2 separate regions of the Homo sapiens genome follow, and region 2 is linked to region 1. Evidence: promoter capture Hi-C in 16 types of primary human blood cells and fetal thymus (Javierre and others, 2016). All regions are on one chromosome and are shown on one strand. The core of a region is centred on a gene start or on the middle of the fragment in contact, and the rest is flanking DNA. Distances in the headings are between cores, read along the strand shown. Region 1 holds the start of ST3GAL5 (ST3 beta-galactoside alpha-2,3-sialyltransferase 5). Region 2 overlaps IMMT (inner membrane mitochondrial protein).

What was found. Contacts are between HindIII fragments. The CHiCAGO score rates a contact against its expected background, and 5 or more counts as called.
Region 2: a fragment that was not itself captured here is called in contact with the fragment with the promoter of ST3GAL5 in region 1 in 1 of 17 cell types (activated CD4 T cells); the score reaches 5.4 in activated CD4 T cells.

Annotation. Positions count from the first base shown.
Region 1 is chr2:85,887,728-85,891,834 of GRCh38, forward strand. It overlaps ST3GAL5 (ST3 beta-galactoside alpha-2,3-sialyltransferase 5), which reads right to left and starts at 1,263. Exons shown (of 7, transcript NM_003896.4): 1 at 1,097-1,263. The coding sequence starts at 1,178. ST3GAL5-AS1 (ST3GAL5 antisense RNA 1) reads left to right here and starts at 1,553. Exons shown (of 3, transcript NR_110569.1): 1 at 1,553-2,076; 2 at 3,449-3,478; 3 at 3,964-4,107. RefSeq lists enhancers at 1-104, 443-943, 635-714 and silencers at 885-1,004, 1,045-1,664. The HindIII fragment of the contact is 797 bases long and covers 769-1,565 here.
Region 2 is chr2:86,183,545-86,187,164 of GRCh38, forward strand. All of the region lies in intron 1 of IMMT (inner membrane mitochondrial protein), which reads right to left. Among named protein-coding and RNA genes, the nearest start is that of MIR4779, 7.8 kb to the right of the region's middle. The HindIII fragment of the contact is 1,922 bases long and covers 294-2,215 here.

The sequences.
Region 1 (4,107 bases), core at 13-2,512:
CCTCTTCCACAGTTTCAGCAGCTGTATCCTTCCGTGGAAAAGGATTAGCAGCCATAAGCCCGGGGGAGGGCAGCTAAACACCAGAGGGCAGGAGATGAGTCTCCTTCCTCTCTGTGACACCCAGCACGGCCCTGCCACGAGGAGCAGGCAACCACTGGTGCCAGATGAAGCGCAGCACATAAAACCATTTTCCCCTTCAAATGAACGATGCCTAATTAAGCAAAAGCCGCATGCATGACTTAAGACATGAGGATATAAAATTCGTCTTCCGAGTCAGCTAGAGATTCTGCAGGATCCTCTACCCTCGTAAACGTATTTTTTTATGATTAGAAAAACCCGGGGCCTGGAAGGGACCTCGGCCATCGGCAGGGTAAGCTTCTCAGGAGAGACCATGAGCCCGAGCCCCACAGGGGGATCAGTGTCTGCCAAGGTCACCAAGCGGGTGTGAGGCAAGGGCAGGGCTCCTCGGGGATGCTCTCGGAAAACCCTGCGTTACTTACACACGCAAGGCGTACAATGAATGCACACCCGCGTCAAGCCACGGCTTACAATTCAGAAGAAATCAAAAGGTCGCCAAAACCTGTCTTCTCCGCAAGGCTGGCTGCAGAGAGGGTGCAGGGAAGGTCACCGGCAAATTTCTACCAGCGGCCCCACATCACGCCTCCCCGATGGATGCAGAGAGAGGTTTCAGGAGCTGCTAGTAACCTTGCAGGGGGTTCCCTAAGCCCATCCCAGGAAAACGAGTTAACTCGGCTCTGCTAACTCCGAAGCTTCCAGCAATGAATTAAATCCCGAGCTGCAGCGGAAAGCGGCGGGGAAAGGGCCACTGCGGCGGGACCCGACACCCGGCGGTCCGCCCCACCCTCTACCGCGTACACACCTGCGTGGGACCCCCCGCCCGGTCCACACGGCCCGGGACCACGACCCTCCGCCCGCGCCCCAGCCGGGCTCGCCTGAGGGTGTCGTGCCCTGGGCGCTGCCCGCGGGGTTCGAGGCGGAAACGCCGCGCCCAGCCGGCCCGGGAAGAGACAAGTCGCCGCCGCAGCCCCCAGCCCGCGGGCCCCCGCGACGCCGAGGAGGGGGCTGCGCCACGTACCTCGGCCGGCAGGTGCCGCCGCTGCCTCGGTCCGCGGCTGCAGGGGACGCCGCTCCGCGCAGCCCGCCGCCTTCGTCCGCATACTAATGAGGGGGCGCCGGCCGGCCGCCAGCCCGGTACCCCGCGCCCCCACCCGCCCCCAGCGCCGCTCTCGCGCCCATTCAGCTGGGGGCCGCCGCTCCCCCGCTCAGATGCGGAGGAGGGGCGCGTGGGCGGGGTCTGACGTCACGAGGACGCGGACGGCCAATCGGAGAGCACGATGCCTCCGCGGCGGCCCCCGCCCCCGGGCGCGCGGCCAGTCAGCCCTGCGGTGCGGTGGGCATTGCCAGAGCAGGGCGCCCCCTGCAGGGACGCACCCGGGGCGGGGGCCAGGCTGGGGCGAGCCCCCCTTGGTTCTGGAGAGGAAATGACATACAGTTTGTGAAAGCATAAATATTCGTGAAAATAAGAAAATTCAGGAAGGAAACAAAGCTTAAGGCAGTGATTGATAGGTTATTTCTTGGACACAGCTGAACGTATACTGTGCGCCTGCAACTTTCCGGTGGTTTCGGACCGGACTTCAGTGAAGCCAGTGAAGTCGGTCGACTTGCAGAACTTCCTTTCAGAGGGGCGTACACAGCACCGCGGCCGTGTGCCTGTGATCTCCTTCTGAGTTTGAAAAAGAAGATCCTAGACACCGAGCCAAATATGTTTGCATAAACCGGGAGACTTGTGGCTCTATTTTGTAACAGCTTGGCGCAGGGCAGCTGGTTTGGAGATGTCTCTGTTCTTCCCTTGGTGGGGGTGCCGGAAAAAATGTGCTGCCTGGGCGATCGAGGTTGGGGCAAAAGCGTTGCAAAGGAAAAGGTGGGAGGACTCTACTTTCACATTTCCCAAAAGAGTTTTACCATAAGACTATTTCTGGATTGTTCTAACGTGAGGATATTGGGAGCATTTTGAAAATACTGGAGGAAAAGCTGTCACTGGGCGATTTAAATCCGGTAAGTTGGCCAAGGCAGAGCAGCTGCTGGGGTCAGCGACAGCTGACCCTTGCAGCTGAGTATCTTGCCCTCTTAATCTTGGAGATCAGCCCAAGGCCCATGTGTTACAGGAAAGGGGTCCCGATCTAGACCCCAAGAGAGGGTTCTTCGATCTCACGCAAGAAACAATTCAGAGTAAGTCCACAGTGCAAAGTAAAAGCAAGTTTATTAAGAAAGTAAAGTGGTGGCTGGGCACAGTGGCTCACGCGTAATCCCAGCACTTTGGGAGGCTGAGACGGACAGATCACCTGATGTCAGGAGTTCAAGACCAGCTGGCCAACATGGCAAAACCCCGTCTCTACTAGAAATACAAATATTGGCCGGGCGTGGTGGCGCAAGCCTGTTGTCTCAGCTACTCACGGGGCTGAGGCAGGAGAATCGCTTGAACCCGGGAGGCAGAGGCTACAGTGAGCCGAGATCGCCACTGCACTCCAGCAGGGCATTCCTGAAAATAAGAGGAGGGACATATCCAACTAAGGTACAATGCTTGTAATGCTTGTATATATGGGCAGATGTCTTCTGCTACAAGGGTTTGTGATAAAGGATTAATTTTCCCTAATTACTATATTTTGCAATAATCAATATTATTATTTTTAAAGCAAAATTAGGAATGCCTTTGTTCTCCAGATATCGGGATATCTGGACTCTCTCAAGTCTGGGTCTGTTTAGTAAGCATTATTAATTTGTTCTCTTAACCATAAACACCTAGAGGCTAGGAATGCCTAGCTTTCAGGAAATGCAGCCTAGCAAGTCCCAGCCTCATTTTTCTAGCCCTCACTCAAAATGGAGGCGCTCTGGTTTGAACACTTCTGACACATGTGCTTGATGCAACACTCTTTACCTCTCTTTGTCTCCCCTGTCCTTCCCCTTCTCTTCCAGATTCCCCTTGTCGGCAAAGCCAGGCGCTGATAGCGTTATGGCTGCCATGAGAGTCAGCAGTATCCCAGCTTCCAAGGATGGGTGTAAGGTGGGGGTGAGGAAGAAAAGGAACTTGAAGCTGCCTCCTGTCCCAGAATCACAAGACATCTGTTAAGCCCTTACTACCTCATTCACTCCACTCACATTAGGTTGACCCACTTGGGCAGCAAGACAAGCAGGCCTGCAAACTTCCTTTTCTTCATCAGCCACAGAGACATCCTCAGCTATTATTCTGGATTAAGGCAGAGATCTCCAAACAGCAGACTAAGATCAGCCTCTAGATCTCAAAGCCTTACTGTTATCTCTCCAAGTCAGTGGCTGATCTCAGAGAAGCTTCTGAATAGTGACTAGCAAAGAGTCACTCAGGCTACTTACAAATCCAGGACAGCAGCGTTTTTTTTTTTTTCTTTTTTAGAGACAGATTCACTCTGTCATCCAAGCTGGAGTGCAGTGGCACGATCTTGGCTCACTGCAACCTCCACCTCCTGGGCTCAAGCAATCCTCCTACCTCAGCCTCCCAAGTAGCTGGAACTACAGGTACCCAACACCATGCCAGGCTAATTTCTAATTTTTTGTAGAGACAGCAGTCTCCCTCTGTTGCCCAGGCTGGCCTCAAACTCCTAGGCTCAAGTGTTCCTCCTGCCTGGGCCTCCCAAAGTGCTGGGATCACAGATGTGAGCCACTGCATGCAGCCAAAACCAGTTATTTTTTGGCTGGGCATGGTGGCTCGCACCTGTGATCCCAGCACTTTGGGAAGCCGAGGTGGGCAGATTACTTGAGGTCAGGAGTTTGAGACCAGCCTGGACAACATGGTGAAACCCTGTCTCTGCTAAAAGTACAAAAAATTAGCTGGGCATGGTGGCATGTGCCTGTAATCCCAGCTACTCAGGAGGCTGAGGCAGGAAAATTGCTTGAACCCAGGAGGCAGAGGTTGCAGTGAGCCGAGATCACGCTAGTGCACTCTAGCCTGGGTGACAGAGCGAAACTCTGTCTAAAAAAAAGAAGTTATTTTTTATCAATATATATTAACATGCAATGGATTTATTATTATTATTATTTTATTTATTTATTTTT
Region 2 (3,620 bases), core at 5-2,504, 300 kb after region 1:
CTAATACTAAATAAATTTAAAATCTGAGGTTTTAAATAATAATTTTAAAAGTTTAAATATGCATAGAGTAAAATCTTCCTCATACTTCTTTCCCCAGCCACCCCATGCTTGCCATAGGCAACTGACACTGTCAGTTTCTTATTTATCCAGAGACATTTTATGTATATTTATTCAAATGTGCATATTCTCCTGACTTTCCCCACCTTTACACAAATGATACCATAATATACACGCAATTCTCTATTAAAGTTCAAGGATATATATTTTAAATCACTGTATATCAGTACGTGAAAAGCTTCCCAAGGGATTTCATGATTTGGTATTCCATTGTTACTTAATGTTTAATTGTTAACCAGCCCCTATTGAGGGACACTGAGGTTTTTTCTAAATTTTTGTTAAAATAAATAATGCTACCTGAGTAACACTGTATACACAATTTTGGGTCTATTCTTAAAAGTAAAATTTGCCACGTTGATTAATACTGCCAAATTAGCCAAACTGCCCTCTAGTAATATGAAAGTATGTTTTCCCACATTTTCTCCAACACACTGTATTGTATCATTTTTTTTTCATCATTGACAATCTGAGGGGTGAAAATACAGAAATAGAGTGTTTCAAGCATATAAATAATTTTTTTTTTAAGAGACTGAGTCTTGCTCTGTTGCCAAGGTTGTGGAATGCAGTGGTATGATCATAGCTCACTGTAACCTCTAACTCCTGGGCTCAAGTGATCCTCCAGCCTCAGCCCCCTGAGTAGCTGGGACTACAGGCACATGCCCACCATACCCAGCTAATATTTTTGTTCTTGTTTTTTATAGAGCCAGGTCTGCTATGTTACCCAAGCTAGTTTTGAACTCATGGCCTCAAGCAATCCTCCTACCTTGGCCTCTCAAAGCACTGAGTAATTTTTATTTACATAATTTATATATTAATACGTTTGTTATTGTTAATATAATAATTATAATTACACTGCTATTTAATACCACTAAGTTTAGGGTGGTCTGTTACACAGCTACAGATAACCAAACATATGTTTATACCTAGAAGAGGGGTGCTACTGCAACAAAACATAAACACGAGGTCATGACTTTGGGACTGGTGTTGGGGGCGGCAGAAGCTGAAGAACCTTGAAGAGACTGTGAGCAGAAGCCTAATGGCCTTCCAGAGCCTGTTGGTGAGGGCTTAAAGAAAAGCAAAAAAAAAAAAAAATTTTGGAACCTGGAGGAAAAGATATTCTTGTTATGTAGTGACAGAAGTTTATCAAAACTGTCATCTGTAATGACAGACATGGAAAATAGAAAATTAAGTATAGCTGTAGCTACACCTAATGAACTGACGTACTTGGCTAAAGAGTTCCAAGTAGGCCAGGCGCGATGGCTTACGCCTGTAATCCCAGCACTTTGGGAGGCCGAAGCGGGCGGATCACAAGGTCAGGAGATTGAGACCATCCTGCTGAACATGGTGAAACCCCGTCTCTACTAAAAATACAGAAAATTAGCCGGGCGTGGCAGTGTGCGCCTGTAGTCCCAGCTACTCGGGAGGCTGAGGCAGCATGAACCCGGGAGGCAGAGCTTGCAGTGAGCCGAGATTGCGCCAGCCTGGGTGACAGAGCCAGACTCTGTCTTAAAAAAAAAAAAACAAAAGAGTTCCAAGTATAGTGTTCATCACAAGCGCTAACTGGTTTCTTTTAGCTGAGTATGATAAGGACAGAGATAAGCATTAAAAAACAAAACAAAAACCTGTTTTGCTTTCAAGCAAAATTTAAAGGAAATATAAAAGAGTCAGGATTTGGTGGGTTCAAAAATAAAACTGCTTATTGTTTTCAAATAGATTCTCAAATAGAGAAGGGCTTCAAGCCAAAGATCAAATCTAGTGTGTGACCAAAAGATACTTTGAGATCTCAAAAAGATCTAAGGAGGTGCCCCTCAGAGAGTCTTTTTACCTTGAGGAAAAGGCCCTCTAAGAATCATAAGGATGTGTTTCCCAGATTCTATTGAATCAATAAGGTTACTCAGAACATTAAAGGTGTTACCTACAGCAGCCTCACAGGAAGCCCAAAATGGAGAAGGGCTTATCTTGATAAGATGTGTATCATGCATCTAATGAAGAAAATCCCATTAAGATTCACAGGAAACCCACAAACTTGTTGAGAATTGTGTCAATAAAAAACATGCTGGCTTATATTTAAAGTGAAAAAGAGGACAAAATGAAAAGAAGCTTCTAGACAAACTTCTACAGACAGGAAGTAGGCTGTGAAACAATTCAGCTGTAACAGACAACATATTCTGGAAACGGAAGAATAATTCAAGTGTAAAACCAGGAGCCCAAAGGGTAGAACCAAGAGCTGAGGAGAATCATTCCCAAGCAGTAGGACTGAGCTCTCATCAAGGAATTAGAAACATAGGGCCAGCTGAATTTTACACTTGTTATGGAATGGTGACTGCTGTGTGCCTCTTAGTTTCTGCCTTTTTGAATAGGAGTGTCTAGAGTGATTATCCTGTGTCTGTCATACCACCATATGCTGAATGTATGGGGAGCAGATAATTTGTCTCTTTAGTTTACAGGGCTTTAGATCACCAAAAAAAGTGTTTAAGAAGCTATACCCTAGGGACCACATTCAAGATGTCTTATCCATAGTAGGATCTGATTCAGATGACAAGATCTTGTTCCTAATGCTGATGCTTTGATGGCATTAGACTCTGGAGAGTCTTGGAGAAGGTTGTGAGTGGGAGGGATGTGCATGTGGGAGGGATGTCAGTTGGGTCCAGAAGGCTGAGGATAATATCCAAAATTGACTGCAACAATACTTCCTATACCACATGCTGTTCCAGAAACGTGCCCCTCTCCCAACAATAATAAGTTTTATGTACACTTCCCTTAAACAAGGGCAGGCCTTTGTTACTAATTCACTAATAGAAGGCAGTGAAAGTGATGCTCTGTAACTCCTGAGACTAAGACATAAAAAGGATACAGCTTCTACCTAGCTCTGCCTCTTGTCACACTTGCCCTTGGAACCCAGCCACCAAAGTGTATGGAAGTCCAGACACTTAAAGATGCCACAGATGGGTGATCCAGCCAACAGTCCCTGCTGAGGTGTCAGCTGCAGCCAGTATTTACTGCCACACATGAGAGTAAAGAAGACTTGGGGATGACTGTAGACCTAGTAACTATCTGACTGCAACTTCATGAGGGTCTCTGAGCAAAAATTTTCCAGAACTGAGTAAGGCAATAAATACTGTTATTTTACCCCAAGCTCAAGGTGGCCTGTTATGCAGCTGTAACTCATAAGAACAGATCTTTTTAAATTCATGGATTTAAACACTTTTGATGGATTTCAACCATTTGTAATTACTGTCTTTTTGCTCAAATTTTCCTATCTTGGGCCAATGGAAGCCTCTGCAAGTTTAGGGTGTGTATGTGTGTATCTAGCTCTGGCTCTATACTTCCGGCCATCTGCAAATACCTGGTGGCAGGTATTTTTTTTTTCCTCTATGTGACAAAATCCCCTTAACATAAAATTCACCATTCTAACCATTTTAAAATGTACAATTCCACGGTATTTAGTACATCCACGATGTTGTACAACAACCATCACCACTATCTAATCTTAGAACATTTTC